Linked DNA regions of Homo sapiens: region 1 is linked to region 2. The links are contacts of gene promoters, found by promoter capture Hi-C in human tissues and cell types (Jung and others, 2019). All regions are on one chromosome and are shown on one strand. The core of a region is centred on a gene start or on the middle of the fragment in contact, and the rest is flanking DNA. Distances in the headings are between cores, read along the strand shown.

Region 1 (7,125 bases), core at 89-2,588, 190 kb after region 2:
CAAATGTAAATATTGAAGAATAGCCAGCATGGCAGCTCTGGGTTTTATCTTTTTGTCTGGATCTGTACTGTCCAGCATCATGGCTGCTAGTCACATGTGACGTTTACATTTAAATTAAATACTATTCAATAAAACCTGAAATTCACTTCGTTAGTTGCACTCGTCAAGTACTCCATAGCCACACGTGGCTAGTGGCTAGCCCATCTCTGCTTGCTGGTTAGGGCCTTGCGAGGCTGAAATGTTGGCTCTTATTTTCTCATTTGCCTCAGAATCCAAAGCTGGGCTTTAGGCTGTCAGCTGTTAAGGCATCTAGAGAAAGGTGTGCTGGAGTGCAGCGTGGTTGGGCACCAGTAACCAAATCTGGCCGTTGCTGAGAACCAGGCTTGTGGGGTGTCTCCTGGAAAGGGAGGTGGGGTGTGTGGCTGATAAGGATCTTATCTTTAGAGATTCTCTTAGGCATCCTGTGTTGGATGAGTGCTTCCCAGATCTTTAAACAAAATAAAACAAAACACCCACACAAACATTTTACAAAGAAAAAGAACAAATCCATACTTAGAAGTAGAATGTCCACTAGGTCAAAGTAAGAACAAGAGATGTGCCAGGCCCCAGGACTCATGGAAATTAGATCATGTGGTCAGAGTTGATATCAAATAGGGGGAACATAGCAAAAGATCTTCTTCTTATCCCACAGGACTCTAGTTAGGCAAATTCTTATGTTTTAAAGCCAGCTAGGAAATGCGTAAATAGGGGTGAATGCCCATGGCAAGAAACAGGAATCAGGAAAAAAAAAAAAAAAAAAAAAGCAAAAAAAATTCTGATGAACGATCGTACCCTAGGGACATTGATCCCAAAGTACAGACAGGAAGCACGGCCAGAAAAAGGCTGTGTGTTTGCTCAGCAGTTCTTGGACCACCTAAACCTGGAAGCCCAGTTAACAGCCCAAACTTCCTGTTGGCACAGGCACGGCTGTGACACACACAGCCTGTTGTTTCAGTGCGTCATCATTCAGAGTCAGGGAAAGCGTTTAAGCTTCCTTAAGCTTTTATTTCTTTTAACAGCCTTTGTGAGAATATTTGGGTATCAAGAGTAGATTATTCTGTCTGGAGATATTAGCGGCATGGACCGACGAGTAACTTTATGAGGTTTAGTCTTACCAGAGAGTGGGAGAAATACTCCTGGGTGTTCATAAGAACCGACCACTTCTCATCTTACCTTGGTGTGTGTTCTTCAGAACATGTAATGGGAAGAGCCCACAGCCTCACGTTCCTCCATTGATTAAATGTGTCTGGTGCACATACCTGGTAACCAGCTGCTTACAGCCCAGTGGGGGACATATGGCAAGACAGCCAGCATACCATCAGTGTTAGGGTTTGAATTCTGCACGGGTGCTGTGATAGTGTCCACGTGAGACCCTTGCCCAGTCGTGTTGTAGGGTGGGCCTTGCCGGTCAGATGAAGGTTCCCAGGGGAGATAACATGGAACTCCTAAAAAATGTCTAGGTATAGTAGGTCAAGAGGAGGGAGACTGAAGGCCTCTCAGCTGAGGGTGTGCATGGCAGTGTCCTGCTTGGGGCGCAAGTTTAGTGCAGAGTACAGTGGAGGTGGAGATGAGCAGCAGGGATGCTGAGGAGAGGTCATAGTAAATTTGCTCGTTTTGGGGTAGGAAATTCCTGCGGTGGGTGCCGGGGCAGGAAGGGTCTGGAGATAGGAAGGCAAGTTAGGGTGCTTACGCAGTCCAGGTGTGAGCCGACAGTGACCTGACCTGGAAAGTGCGGAGGAAAGGAATTCTTCCATTCAGCAGATGGTTATTGGGCACCTGCTTTGCGTGAGGCTCTGTCCTGGAATTGGCCTCCTAGTGATGGTGGGAGGAGAAAAACAGTAAAGAAACAAGCAAATACGTCAATCTTGTGGCAGCTGGTCACTAATTCTGTGAAGAAAAATAAATCAGGGAGGGGAATAGTGAGAAATAGAATGTGAGGTCAGACAGTGATCATACAGGACCTGCAAGCCATTCATTAATTTGTCCTTTTAAAAATAGGAACTGTGTGCCACTCACAGGTCTGGGCTCTAGAGAACAGCAATGAACAGACAGACAAAAATCCATGAGTTTCCATCCTTTTTTTTTTTTTTTTTGACAGAGTCTTGCTCTATCATTCAGGCTGAAGTGCAGTGTCATCATCATGGCTCACTGCAGCCTCAACCTCCTGGGTTTAAGCCATCCTCCCACCTCAGCCTCCTGAGTAGCTGAAATATGGCACATGCCACTGTGCTCAGCTGATTTTTAATTTTTTTTTTTTGTAGAGACAAGGTCTTAACTATGTCACTGATCTCAAACTCCTGAGCTCAAGCAATCCTTCTGCCTCAGCCTCCCAAAGTGCTGGGATTACAGGTGGGAGCCACTTTGCCTGGCCACAGGGCTTTCATTCTGGTGTGGGAGACAGGCAATCCACAATAGAAATAAGTCAAATGTGTAGATGTTAGATATTGACAAACACTAGGGAAAAAAATAAGGTAGAGGTATGGATGCTGAAAATTCAGGCGGCCAGGAAAGGCTGCACCAAGAAGGCGGCCTTTGAGTAAAGTCCTGGAGGAGTTGTGGGAAGCCTGCATGTGGGCCTCAAGGGCAAAGGCCCCACAGCAGGGGGGTGCCTGGTGTTGCTCCACCAGGATGGGCATTGACCAGAGATTCCATAGGTCTTGTGGGCCTCACCAGGGTGTTGGCCTGAAAAAAACCTTTGGAGGCCTTTGAGCAGAGATGTGACATGCTCTGCCTAGTGGGGAGTAGGCTGAAAGGAAAAGCAGGAGGCCAGGCAGGAGCTGGTGGCCCTAGGACAGGTGTGCTGACAGCAGCTGCATCCTGGGTGCTTGCCATGTGGAGGTGGGAGAAGCCACCAGGCTCTGGAGCAGACCTAGTTTCTGTGCTTTTGGGCTGGATGAGGGTGGGGGCAAGTCCCTTCAGAAAGAGACACCCATTCCAGGCGTTGAAAAGTATGTCAGGAGAAACTCTGACTCCAGAGGGAGGACGGGGAGGAGCCACAGTGGAGGAAGGGTTGGCTGGAGGTGTGGCCGAGAGCTTTGAAAAGAAGGGGCAAGTTGCTGTCCTGGAAGAGACTCCTGGAAGGAGCTTCAGGAGGAGACCTGGGGCCTGTGGGGCTGTGTCCTGATGGGTGTGCCTAGCAGGCAGGAGGTGAGCAGGACAGAGTGGCGATGCGGCTCAGAGCTGTGCTGTGCAAGGATGCAGGGATGTGAGGATGCCCCAGAGCGGAGGGGAGGAGGGCAGCCACCAGGATCAGGGACCCATGCTCCTTTCTTTCCTTTTCTGTTTCCTTCCCATCCCTTCTTTAAGACAAGTGGCCTTGGCAGAAAGATGTAGGGAGGTACAGTGAAGAAACCATTTAATGGCTGCTTCAGTTCCTCTAAACCCCTGACTATGTGATGACAGATTTGAACATGCCCCTTTTCAGCAGTGAAAAGAAGGCAAAAAGGCTTTTTGGTGCAACTACCTTCATTCTAAAAACCAAGCAAAGAAGCCCAGAACATGTCCTTGTTCTTGTGACTTTCGTACCAGGTGCTGTGAAGTTCCTTTTTGTACATCCCTAAATAGAGAGTTTGGAGTACTTAGATCTTAAAACGAAAAGTCTCAGTTGGATGGTAATAATAGTTGTCTGGGAAAATGTTCTTTCTGTAAGAATAATAGATTTTGGAATTGACTATGATTCCAAGAAGGGCCTGAGGATGAAGAGAGACTGTTTCCTGGAGTCGGCCCAGGGAATTGGTTTAATTCTCCTATTTCTGTAAGATGAGAGTTTTAATATACTGCATAATGGCCATGATTTAGGCAGGGGATGCCCTTAACAGCTTGAAGTGGAACAACCAAGATGAGCACCCTTTTCTGTTTTAAAATTTGTAAGTTGGGGGGAAAAAGTGTTAGAAAAGGAATATGCCAATATATGCTTTGAAATGAAAACATCAAAACGATGGGATGCAAGTGAAGATTTTTGTGCATGGTAAGATGTTCTTTTCCTTATCCATCCTCCCTCCCTCCCTCCCTCCCTCCCTGCCTCCCTCCCTTCAAGATGGGGTCTCGCTACATTGCCCAGGCTGGTCTCGAACTCCTGGGCTCAAGCAGTCTTCCCACCTTGGCCTCCCAAAGTGCTGGGATTACAGGCATAAGCCACCACACCCAGTCCTAGATTTTTAACTTAAAAATTAATTTTTTTTCCTCTGGTTTTGAGGTTTCAGATAAGTTTATCATATTGCAATATACTTTTAATTTGAACAGAGTTTTGGTAGTTTTAAATGAAATGAGAGATGTTAGTAATACAAAGTACACATCTAATAGTTGGGAGACACACAATTTGTTACGAATGAAAATAGTAAGAGGTTCTTGCTACAGTCTCTTACTATAGCAGGCTTACGAAGTTGATCAGCATTCTGGCCATCTCTTACTTGTGTGTGTGTGTGTGTGTGCTTTTTTTTTTTTAAAGACACGGTCTTGCTGTCACCCAGGCTGGAGTGCAGTGGCGTGATCTTGGCTCACTGCAGCCTCTGCCTCCCGGGTTCAAGCAGTTCTTGTGCCTCAGCCTCCCAAGTAGCTAGCTGGGACTACAGGCATGCACGACCATGCCCAGCTAATTTTCGTATTTTTTGGTAGAGACTGGATTTTACCATGTTGGCCAGGATGGTCTCAAACTTCTGACCTCAAGTGATCCTCCTGCCTCGGCCTCCCAAAGTGCTGGGATAAAGGCGTGAGCCACTGTGCCCGGCCTCTCACCTCTTAATTTCTGTGAGGTCAGGTTTATGGAATCTTGGTCATGGAAAAGGCCTTAGAGGACCTCTTGTTTGTTCTGCTCTTGCTAAATGCTGTGACAGGAATGCATCAGAAGTAGTTGACAAGCTTCCTTCCTTTCCTACCCCATGTGATCCCCCTGCCTTCATCCTGCTGTCTCCGCTTTCTGTGGGTCAGCATCAGTTCTTCCTGGGATCATCGTGACAACCTCTGTGTGATCTCCCTGCCCCACAGCCTTGGTCTCTTCTGACCCCTGATTGCTATTCCTGCCTGTGCCTTTTGCACTTCCAGGACTACTTCAGATTTCCTTTCTTCTAGGTGAATCCCCACTTCTAAATTCCTAATCCCCACCCCCACTAACTTTTATTTGCCTAAGCTAGGTAGGCAGGCTTCTTAGTTTTAATGATTAGAGATAAAATATTTCAGATTGATTTCTTTACCATAATCTAAGCCCATAATTCTATTGGAGAAAAAGTTCATTCTTGCTAGGATTTGATAAAGTACTTGAGGAGGAAGATATGATATTGGAGGTTTCGAGGCAGTAATCACTCAGTTGTCACATTCCCCACCCTCTTAAATTGCCCTTAAAATGGATGTTTTTAAGCATCCATAGTTCTCCCTAGGTTTTACGGTACAAACTACATTGTTGGGGTGAAATGGAAGAAGCAAGAATGCTGATATGTTCTTCTGCCTCTTTTTTGTAGTTCTCATATGTGTATTTTCTGTCCCTTTTTCATTATTTGTGTAACTTTCTTCATTTACAAGAGAAATAAGTTCACTGCAGAAAATGCAGAATGGTAAAATGAGGAAAACAAATAATTTAAAATCTCACTAGCCAGAAAAACACCACTTTCTGTTATTTTGGTAGTAACAGAAAATATTTTACTGATATTTTGGGTGTATTTCTTTTTTTTTTTTTTTTGGTTGTGATTGTTGTTTGAGACAGGGTCTCACTCTGTCACCCAGGCTGGAGTGCAGTGACATGATCATAGCTTCCTGCAGCCTTGACCTCCTGGGCTCAAGTGATCCTCCCACTTCAGCCTCTTGGGTAGCTGGGACTACAGGCATGCACCACCACGCCCAGCTAGTTGTTATTGTTGTTTTTAGTAGGAATGGGGTTTTGCCATGTTGCCTAGGCTGGTCTCGAATTTCTGAGCTCAAGTGATTGGTCTCCCAAAGTGCTGAGATTACAGGCATGAGCCACTGTGCCCAGCCTTGATGTATTTCTTTCCAGAGATTTAAGACAAGTATTTGAGTGTTCTTTTATAAAATTCTCATCAACACACAATCTGCTTTATGAAGACTTTAACTTTGTATCATATCGTGGCATCTCAATGTTATTAGAAACAGAACTTGTAATTGTGACATATAGCAAATCATGGATCTAACTTTTCCACTTGCATTGGGACTTTGGATTGTTTCTAATGCTTTGCTATAATAAATAACAGCCTAGTTTATATTGACCTTATTGTATCTGATTGCTTTAATTTTGAGTTTCAGTGAAGCCAAACACTTCTGCCAGCATTCCTTGGCCATTTATATTCTTTCATTGTGCCTATTCTTCTCCCTAGCCCCTTTATTCCTGCGGAGTAATACTGGTGATCAAAGATACTGCATCATACAGAACAATTACAGAGAAGATCCCTGGATCTGATAGCACTTTGAGGGAATAGAGGGAGAACCAGCCGCACCACCAGCCAGATCTGTGCCTGTCATTACTGATAGCCCTAGGATAGGGGGATGTTTACTCTGTCTCTGTTTAGGGGGAGCAGTTTTTGTTGTAGAAGGAAGTGTCTGTATCTACAGATCTGTGTCTGTAGCTCCGTTCTTGCTCTTTTCACTTTCTGATATACAGATGATGTTCTGTATACCTGTGTCAGTGTATAAGGATTATCTTCATTGTTTTTTATAACTGCAAAGTGATCCATGGTATAGATACACCATAATTTATTTAATTACTGCAGATAGACATCTAGACTGTTTCTAATGTTTTGCTATTACAAATAGCACTACCCTGAATAACCTGGCACATAAGTTGTTTCACTCAGGTGTAATTGAAGGATAGATTTCCAAGAGTGAGATTTTTGAGTCAGAGGGGATGTGCCTTGGTAAGCTGAGGGGGCTACTCACCAAATTGCCCTCTGTTGAGGAATTTCGTCAGCAATGTGTAAATGCCTGTTTTCTTGCATGCTTGGCAGCAGAATATGTGGTCAGACTGGGCTCTTGTCCCGATTAGTAGGTAGAAAGAGGTTTCTCATTATAGTTTGGTGGAGTCTCGTTCTGTTGCCCAGGCTGGAGTGCAGTGTCATGTTCTCGGCTCATTGCAACCTCTGCCTC
Region 2 (7,126 bases), core at 4,627-7,126:
CTTGTTGGATGGATTTAAAACTTTTAAAAGGACCTTAGCCAAGGTCTCCCAGCTAGAAAGTGCCTAGTAAGAATTAGAACACAAACAGGTTTGTTACCAGCCCACACTCTAACCACCATACTATACTGCCTGCCTGCATTTATTAATACTTGTGTTGCTCCAGCATTGCCTTTGGTGTTTCCTGTTCTTTCTATTCACTGCCCTGTAAGTGATGTAAAACACATATAACACTGCGTCCCCAACTTAAGCATACTGTAATCTCACAATGAGACACTTGCACACAAAAGAATTGCAATTTCGTTTTTTAAAAAAATATAATTTTACATTTTTCTTCTTTTCAATTTTTAAATTTTAATTAATTTATTTCTCCTTTTTTTAGAGACAGGGTCTCACTATGTTGCCCAGACTGGTCTTGAACTCCTGGGTTCAAGAGATCCTCCCGCCTAGGTCTCCCAAAGTGCTGGGATTACAGGCATGAGCTACCATGCCTGGCTAAAATTTCCTATTGGTAATTTTGACCTGAGCTGTGAGTTTTGGGGCAGGTAGTGAGAATTCTGAAAACAGCATTATATATTCCTGATTTCTATATGAGTATATGCCCGAGTAGCTTGGACTACAGGTGTGCAGCACCACACCCAGCTAACTTTTAAATTTTTGTGTAGCGATGAAGTCTCACTTTATTGCTTAGGCTGGTCTTAAACTCCTGGGCTCGAGCAATCCTCCCACATAGGCCTCCTAAAGTTCTGGGATTACAGGCATGAGCCACAGCACTCGAGCAAGATGATCTTCTAAGACAGGTGAAGATGTTAGTGTCTAGAACTTCACCTTCAGGGGCACGTAGGTATGAAAGGTCATATCTAAGTGAGTGTCATGTCAGTCCTTCTAGAAACTCAGCTGCTCCTTTTCAAATCCAGCCTAATAAAAGGAGGCTTGGAGAATCAATGCACATAAGTCAGAATTATAGAATGCACAGCATGATTACTAGGATGGATAACATGTGGTCTGAACAAACTTCTCATCCATTACACTCAGCCCTCTCAGGTTAATGGAACTCAGATCAAGTATATTCCTGAAGTCAGTACTGTGTGACGAACAGGGGTCTGGTGGAAGTGATGCTAATAGGGCTTTAGGCCAGCTTTAGAGCCCTTCTCTCTCTCTCTTTTCGTTTTTTGTTTTCTTTTTGTTTGTTTTTTGTTTTTTTTTTTTAGACAGTTTCCCTCTTGTTGCTCAGGCTGGAGTGCAATGGTGTGATCTCGGCTCACTGCAACCTCCGCCTCCCAGGTTCAAGCAATTCTCCTGTCTCAGCCTCCCGAGTAGCTGGGACTACAGGCGCCCGCCACCACAGCTGGCTAATTTTTGTATTTTTAGTAGAGACAGGGGTTTTAGGTCAGGCTGGTTTTGAATTCTTGACCTCAGGTGATCCGCCCACCTGGGCCTCCCAAAGTGCTGGGATTACAGGCATCAGCCACTGCACCTGGCTCAAGAAACATTCTTAAGCATGCTTGATCTTGGTAAATGCCCCTGATTTCTTCTGTAGGAAAAAACCCTAGAGATCGAATTTCTGTGTCAAAGAATAAGTAAAATTCTAAGGCTTTTGATACACATTTCTAAGTTTCCACCAGAAAAATTATACCAATGTATACTCCCACTTGCAATGTATTTAAGTGCCTACTTCCTTGAATCCTTCCTAACACACCAGGTGTTAACATGATTTTTATTAATTTGGTAGGTTAAAATTCTGTCTCCATTGAATTTACATTTCTTTGCTTATTAATGTGGCTAACAAACTTCACGTTTATGAAGACTAGGACTGGACAGTGGAGGCCAGATACCTCTGGCTTTTTGTTTAGATGAATAAATTTTCTATTTCTCTTAATCCATTCAAGTTGAGTTCTCTGTCACTGAAACCTAAACTATACTAACCAATATAATCCTTTGAGGCATACTGAAGTCTTAAAACTTGTATGGTTATTCATTATGTTTTATGGGTTTTTTTCTTATGTTTGGAAGCCCATAGGAAGATCTCATAAATATTTACCAAAATATTTTTCCATTTCTTATTGGGTCAAGATTTGAATTTGAATTCTTTATCTAGAATTTAGTGAATAATTATTAGGAAAAGTCTTTTTTTTTTTTTTTGAGATGGAGGTTTGCTCTGTCACCCAGGCTGGAGTACAGTGGCGCAATCTTGGTTCACTGCAACCTCTGCCTCCCGGGTTCAAGCAATTCTCCTGCGTCAGCCTCCCTAGTATCTGGAATTACAGGTGTGCACCACCACGCCCAGCTAATTTTTGTATTTTTAGTAGAGACGGGGTTTCACCATGTTGGCCTGGCTGGTCTCGAACTCCTGACCTCAGATGATCCACCTACCTCAGCCTCCCAAAGTTCTGGGATTACAGGCATGAGCCACTGCGCCCATCCAGAAAAGTCTACAGCTTTTATTCTTTTCTAATAGTTTAACCAATTATCTGATCAAAATTTACTTCATTCTTTCTCCCACTGATCCAATAGTACCTTTACTAGATGTTAGAGTAGCCACTTAAAATGTAAATTGGATCACATCAAAGATCTGCTGTTGACCACATTCCCTTGCACTTTTAGAGAGCCTACAAAGTCCTGCAAGAGCTCACCCCAGCCTCTCTGCAACCTCACCTTGCACCACTCTTGCTTCAGACACATCAGTCTGAGTTCTACATCAAACTTGTCTGAATATATTCCAAGTATGCTGACCTTTATAATCATGCTATTCTCTCAGCCTAGAATGCTTTTTTCCAACTCTCCAAGCAGCTGTCTTCTCTGATAAGATGCTACCTCCTCAGAGAGGCCTTCTCTGACCACAGTCATAGGCATGTTTATGTCCTCATTTCAGTTTAACATAAAATTTACGTAACTGTACACCTCTTTATCATTTGACACTTTTAGGAGGACATCACTTCTGTAATAGAGCAGAAATAAACAGATTGATGTACATGGTGGATCCCCCATGGATAGAGTTTGTCATTTAAAATGTCTTCAAATCTATTACATGTAATTTGGCATTAAACCAAAATGTTATTATGTAAGCAGACAGAACTGAAACAGAGTAGTGGAGCATATGCATTTGTTTTTAGTGAAGCAAATGTTCCTCACTGGAGGAAGGAACACATTCCACATTTTGCAAAGGAACTGAGATTTTAACGGACCCAAGAAAGGAAAAGAACCACAAACAGATGATGCTGTATTATGTTTTGATATTGAGATGTATGCAAATGGGTAGTCCATCACACATAAAGCAAGAAAGTGCCAACATCAAAACTTACAAATGAGTAGCAGAGGCTTGCAAGAAATTCCAGAGACAATAGAATAGCACTATTGAAAAATACTGCATCATCAATACCCTTGACAACACAGAGTAGGATATTATACAGAAAAACAGCAGAATCAGCAACTAACTGAGTGGAGAAACAGTAGGAATGCCTTAACCAATGTAGCTTAAATTTTTTCATGTTTGCACAAGAGTAATATATAATAAGAATGTTTTTAAAGTCTAAAAGTTCTTTTAAAACAAAATAGACCCGGGCGCGGTGGCTCATGCCTGTAATCCCAGCACTTTGGGAGGCCAAGGCAGGCAGATCACATGAGGTCAGGAGTTCAAGACCAACCTGGCCAACATGGCAAAACCCCGTCTCTACTAAAAATACAAAAATTAGCCAGGTGTGATGGCGCATGCCTGTAATCCTAGCTATTCAGGAGGCTGAGGCATGAGAATTGCTTGAACCCAGGAGGCGGAGATTGCGGTTAGCCAAGATCACACCACTGCACTCCAGCCTGGGTGATAGAGTGAGACTCTGTCTCAGAAAAAAAAAAAAGAAAAAGAAAAAGAAAAAAAAAAAGAAATTCTAAGTGATAAAGCATTGTGTAACAGTTTGAGGCTGGGCACAGTGGCTCATGCCTGTAATCTCACACTTTGGGAGACCGATTGGGAAGATTGCTTGAGCCCAGGAGTTGGAGACCAGCCAGAGCGACATAGTGGGACCTTCTCTCTACAAAAACATTTAAAAATTAGCCAGGTACAGTGGTGCACCCCTGTAGTCCCAGCTATTTGGGAGGTGGCAAGAGGATCTCTCGAGCCTAGAAGTTGGAGGTGGCAGTGAGTAGTCATCTTGCCACTGCACTCCAGCCTGGGTGTCAAAGGGAGACTCCCCTCTCTAGAAAATAATAAAAAAAAAAGTTTGACAGTTTTCTTGCTTGTGCTACATAAAATAATGGTACATATTACAATTGAAGGCATCTTATAATAGAAATGCCCTTTCCTGTTCCCTTTTAAGGCTGACCCAGTGCTTTAAGAGGCTGATACAGAAGGGTAAAGTTAAGTCTCCACAAAATCCAGGGAAGAGACTGTGAAACTCATCTTAGAACCTTGTATGGAGTCACAGCTGAACTAGGAAAAAAAAAAAAAAAAAAAAAAGGAAAGAAAGGCATTCCAGAGATAAAGAATAGACTAAGGAGAGGAGATATTTGAAGCCATAATGATTGAGAATATGTCAGACTTGAAATGAATCTTCAGTTCCCTCAACAAGACAAATAAAACTAACTCCATACCTAGATACATGGTAGAAAAACTAAAGAATTCTGCTGACCAAGGTATTAAAAGTAACTAAAGAGAAGTGGTGTGAAGAAAGCAAGAGAGAAACAACAAATCCTGTCCATCCTGTAACAATTGAAAATTTCTGGCTGGGCGTGGTGGCTCACGCCTGTAATCCCAGCACTTTGAGAGGCCGAGGCAGGTGGATCACCTCAGGTCAGGTGTTCAAGACCAGCCTGGCCAACATGGTGAAACCCCGTCTCTACTAAAAAAAAATAATAATAATAATACAAAAATTAGCCGGGGGTGGTGGTAGGCACCTGTAATCCCAGATACTCGGGAGGCTGAGGCAGGAGACTCACTTGAACCTGGGAGGCGGAGGTTGCAATGAGCTGAGATCGCGCCACTGTACTCCAGCCTGGATGACAGAGCAGGACTCCATCTCAAAAAGAAAGGAAAAGAAAAGAAAAAATATTAAATGTGTACGCTCTTTGACTCAGCTGTATTACTTCAAGGAGTTGATATCACCAAAATTGCCTAAGTGCTCAAAGGTGTTTGTAGTTAAACAACAGGAGATTGATAAATTATGTTATATACATGTGATGCTATGTTTTAAAGAGGTACTGATATGATAAAAGATGTACGTGGCATAAAATTAAATGTACTTTATTAAGTACTTTTCCAAGTGTTTACGGAATGAGTGCATTTTTGAAAAAAAAAAAGTGTATTCGAACTTTTAAAAAAGCTTTAAAAGCTTTATACAATGAACGATTGAGTGATTATAAGAGCTGGCGGGGGAATGTTAAGAGGATGATAGGGAGCTAAGTTTAACAGAACAATTCACCTCTTTATCTTGTGACACCTACGAGCGCATCAATTCTGTAATTGAAAAATAAAGTGCATATTTGCAGCAGCTGTACTCTCTTCAGGCTGCAAGGAGGCTTTTCCTCCCGGTAGGCTTGATTTGCATTTCACTTTCACTTTCGTGGCTGGAAACTTTCTACCCACGTAGTGGGAGGCTGAGGAGCCACCATAAAGCTGGGGCTTGACGAGCCGGGACCGGGACCCGATCTCCACATATGCCCGGACTTGTTCTGCGGCCGGGTTCAGGAGTCAAAGAGGCGGGGAGACCTGCGCGACGCTGCCCCGCCCTGCGCCCGCTTCCTCCAATGTATGCTCTAGGGGGCGGGCCTCGCGGGGAGCATGGACACGATTGGCCCTAAAGTCTTCCCCGCAAGGCCGTGGGCTGGACAGCGTGGTGACGTCGCAACGCGGCGCAGGGTGAGAGCGCGCGCTTGCGGACGCGGCGGCATTAAACGGTTGCAGGCGTAGCAGAGTGGTCGTTGTCTTTCTAGGTCTCAGCCGGTCGTCGCGACGTTCGCCCGCTCGCTCTGAGGCTCCTGAAGCCGAAACCAGCTAGACTTTCCTCCTTCCCGCCTGCCTGTAGCGGCGTTGTTGCCACTCCGCCACCATGTTCGAGGCGCGCCTGGTCCAGGGCTCCATCCTCAAGAAGGTGTTGGAGGCACTCAAGGACCTCATCAACGAGGCCTGCTGGGATATTAGCTCCAGCGGTGTAAACCTGCAGAGCATGGACTCGTCCCACGTCTCTTTGGTGCAGCTCACCCTGCGGTCTGAGGGCTTCGACACCTACCGCTGCGACCGCAACCTGGCCATGGGCGTGAACCTCACCAGGTGAGCCTCGCGGCCCCGGGAAGCCGGCCCCGGCCCGCCTGCACCTCCGGTGCTTGGCGGGAGCGCTTTCGAGCCTAGCCCTCATTGGCTGGCGTGGGCCATCCGCGCCTTCTCATTGGCCTGCCACGCAGTGGGGTGGGGCCCAGCTGAGCGCGCGGTTCGGAAAAGCCCGCGCTGGCTGCTGCGCGAACCTGCTTTTTCGCGCCAAAGTCACAAAGCGGGTGGTGGCGGGAAAATCAAGGGTTTTTCCGCAGTGCCAGGAACACTGTTCCAGGGCTCTTTGCTCACTAAATCCTGTTGGCCTTGAATGGACGCTTTAGCTGTGGCTTTCTTGTTTCTGAGACGGTCTCGGTGTGTTGCCCGGGCTGGTCTCCAACTTCTGGGCTCAAGCGATCCTCCCGGCTCAGTCGCGGTTGACTTTAAATGCTTTATAATGCCCTTGCGAGAAATGTGGCAGCCTGTCATCCTACTTAGTGGCAGGAGATTGTTTCTATCCAGAAGGGACACTGCTGGTGGTATTTTAGTATAAATACTGCCAGATGCGTCCCAAAACGTCTGCATTAATAATGGCATCCTCCAGCAGTCCGCTTACCCTCCACCAGTTCTGAGACGGCCTGATGGGTGAGAGTGGTAACCCCTTCTAACCGCGTTCGAAATACAGCCCTTCAGCAGACGGCGTTGATTTTAAAGCATGTGTCTCCTGTCTTCTAGTATGTCCAAAATACTAAAATGCGCCGGCAATGAAGATATCATTACACTAAGGGCCGAAGATAACGCGGATACCTTGGCGCTAGTATTTGAAGCACCAAGTAAGTCGTACCTTTTTACCGAGTCACGAAGCTACAGAAAATCAAAACTCTGTGTCAGTAT

The links. The method cuts DNA at HindIII sites, captures the fragments that hold promoters and counts their contacts. A contact is called where the count stands out against the background at its distance.
Region 1: a contact is called between a fragment that was not itself captured here and the fragment with the promoter of PCNA in region 2, in 1 of the 25 tissues and cell types used here (hippocampus).

What each region holds. Positions count from the first base shown.
Region 1 is chr20:4,920,188-4,927,312 of GRCh38, reverse strand. All of the region lies in intron 3 of SLC23A2 (solute carrier family 23 member 2), which reads left to right. Among named protein-coding and RNA genes, the nearest start is that of SLC23A2, 78 kb to the left of the region's middle. RefSeq lists an enhancer at 816-1,110. The HindIII fragment of the contact is 3,261 bases long and covers 1-2,968 here.
Region 2 is chr20:5,118,708-5,125,833 of GRCh38, reverse strand. PCNA (proliferating cell nuclear antigen) reads left to right here and starts at 5,876. Exons shown (of 6, transcript NM_182649.2): 1 at 5,876-6,256; 2 at 6,968-7,065. The coding sequence starts at 6,036. PCNA-AS1 (PCNA antisense RNA 1) reads right to left here and starts at 6,248. Exons shown (of 1, transcript NR_028370.1): 1 at 5,865-6,248. It overlaps LOC124900464 (small nucleolar RNA SNORA26), which reads left to right and starts at 4,295; the gene lies at 4,295-4,417. RefSeq lists enhancers at 5,343-5,792, 5,923-6,092, 5,541-6,421, 6,533-6,682, 6,422-7,126 and a silencer at 6,283-6,342. The HindIII fragment of the contact is 20,967 bases long and covers 1-7,126 here.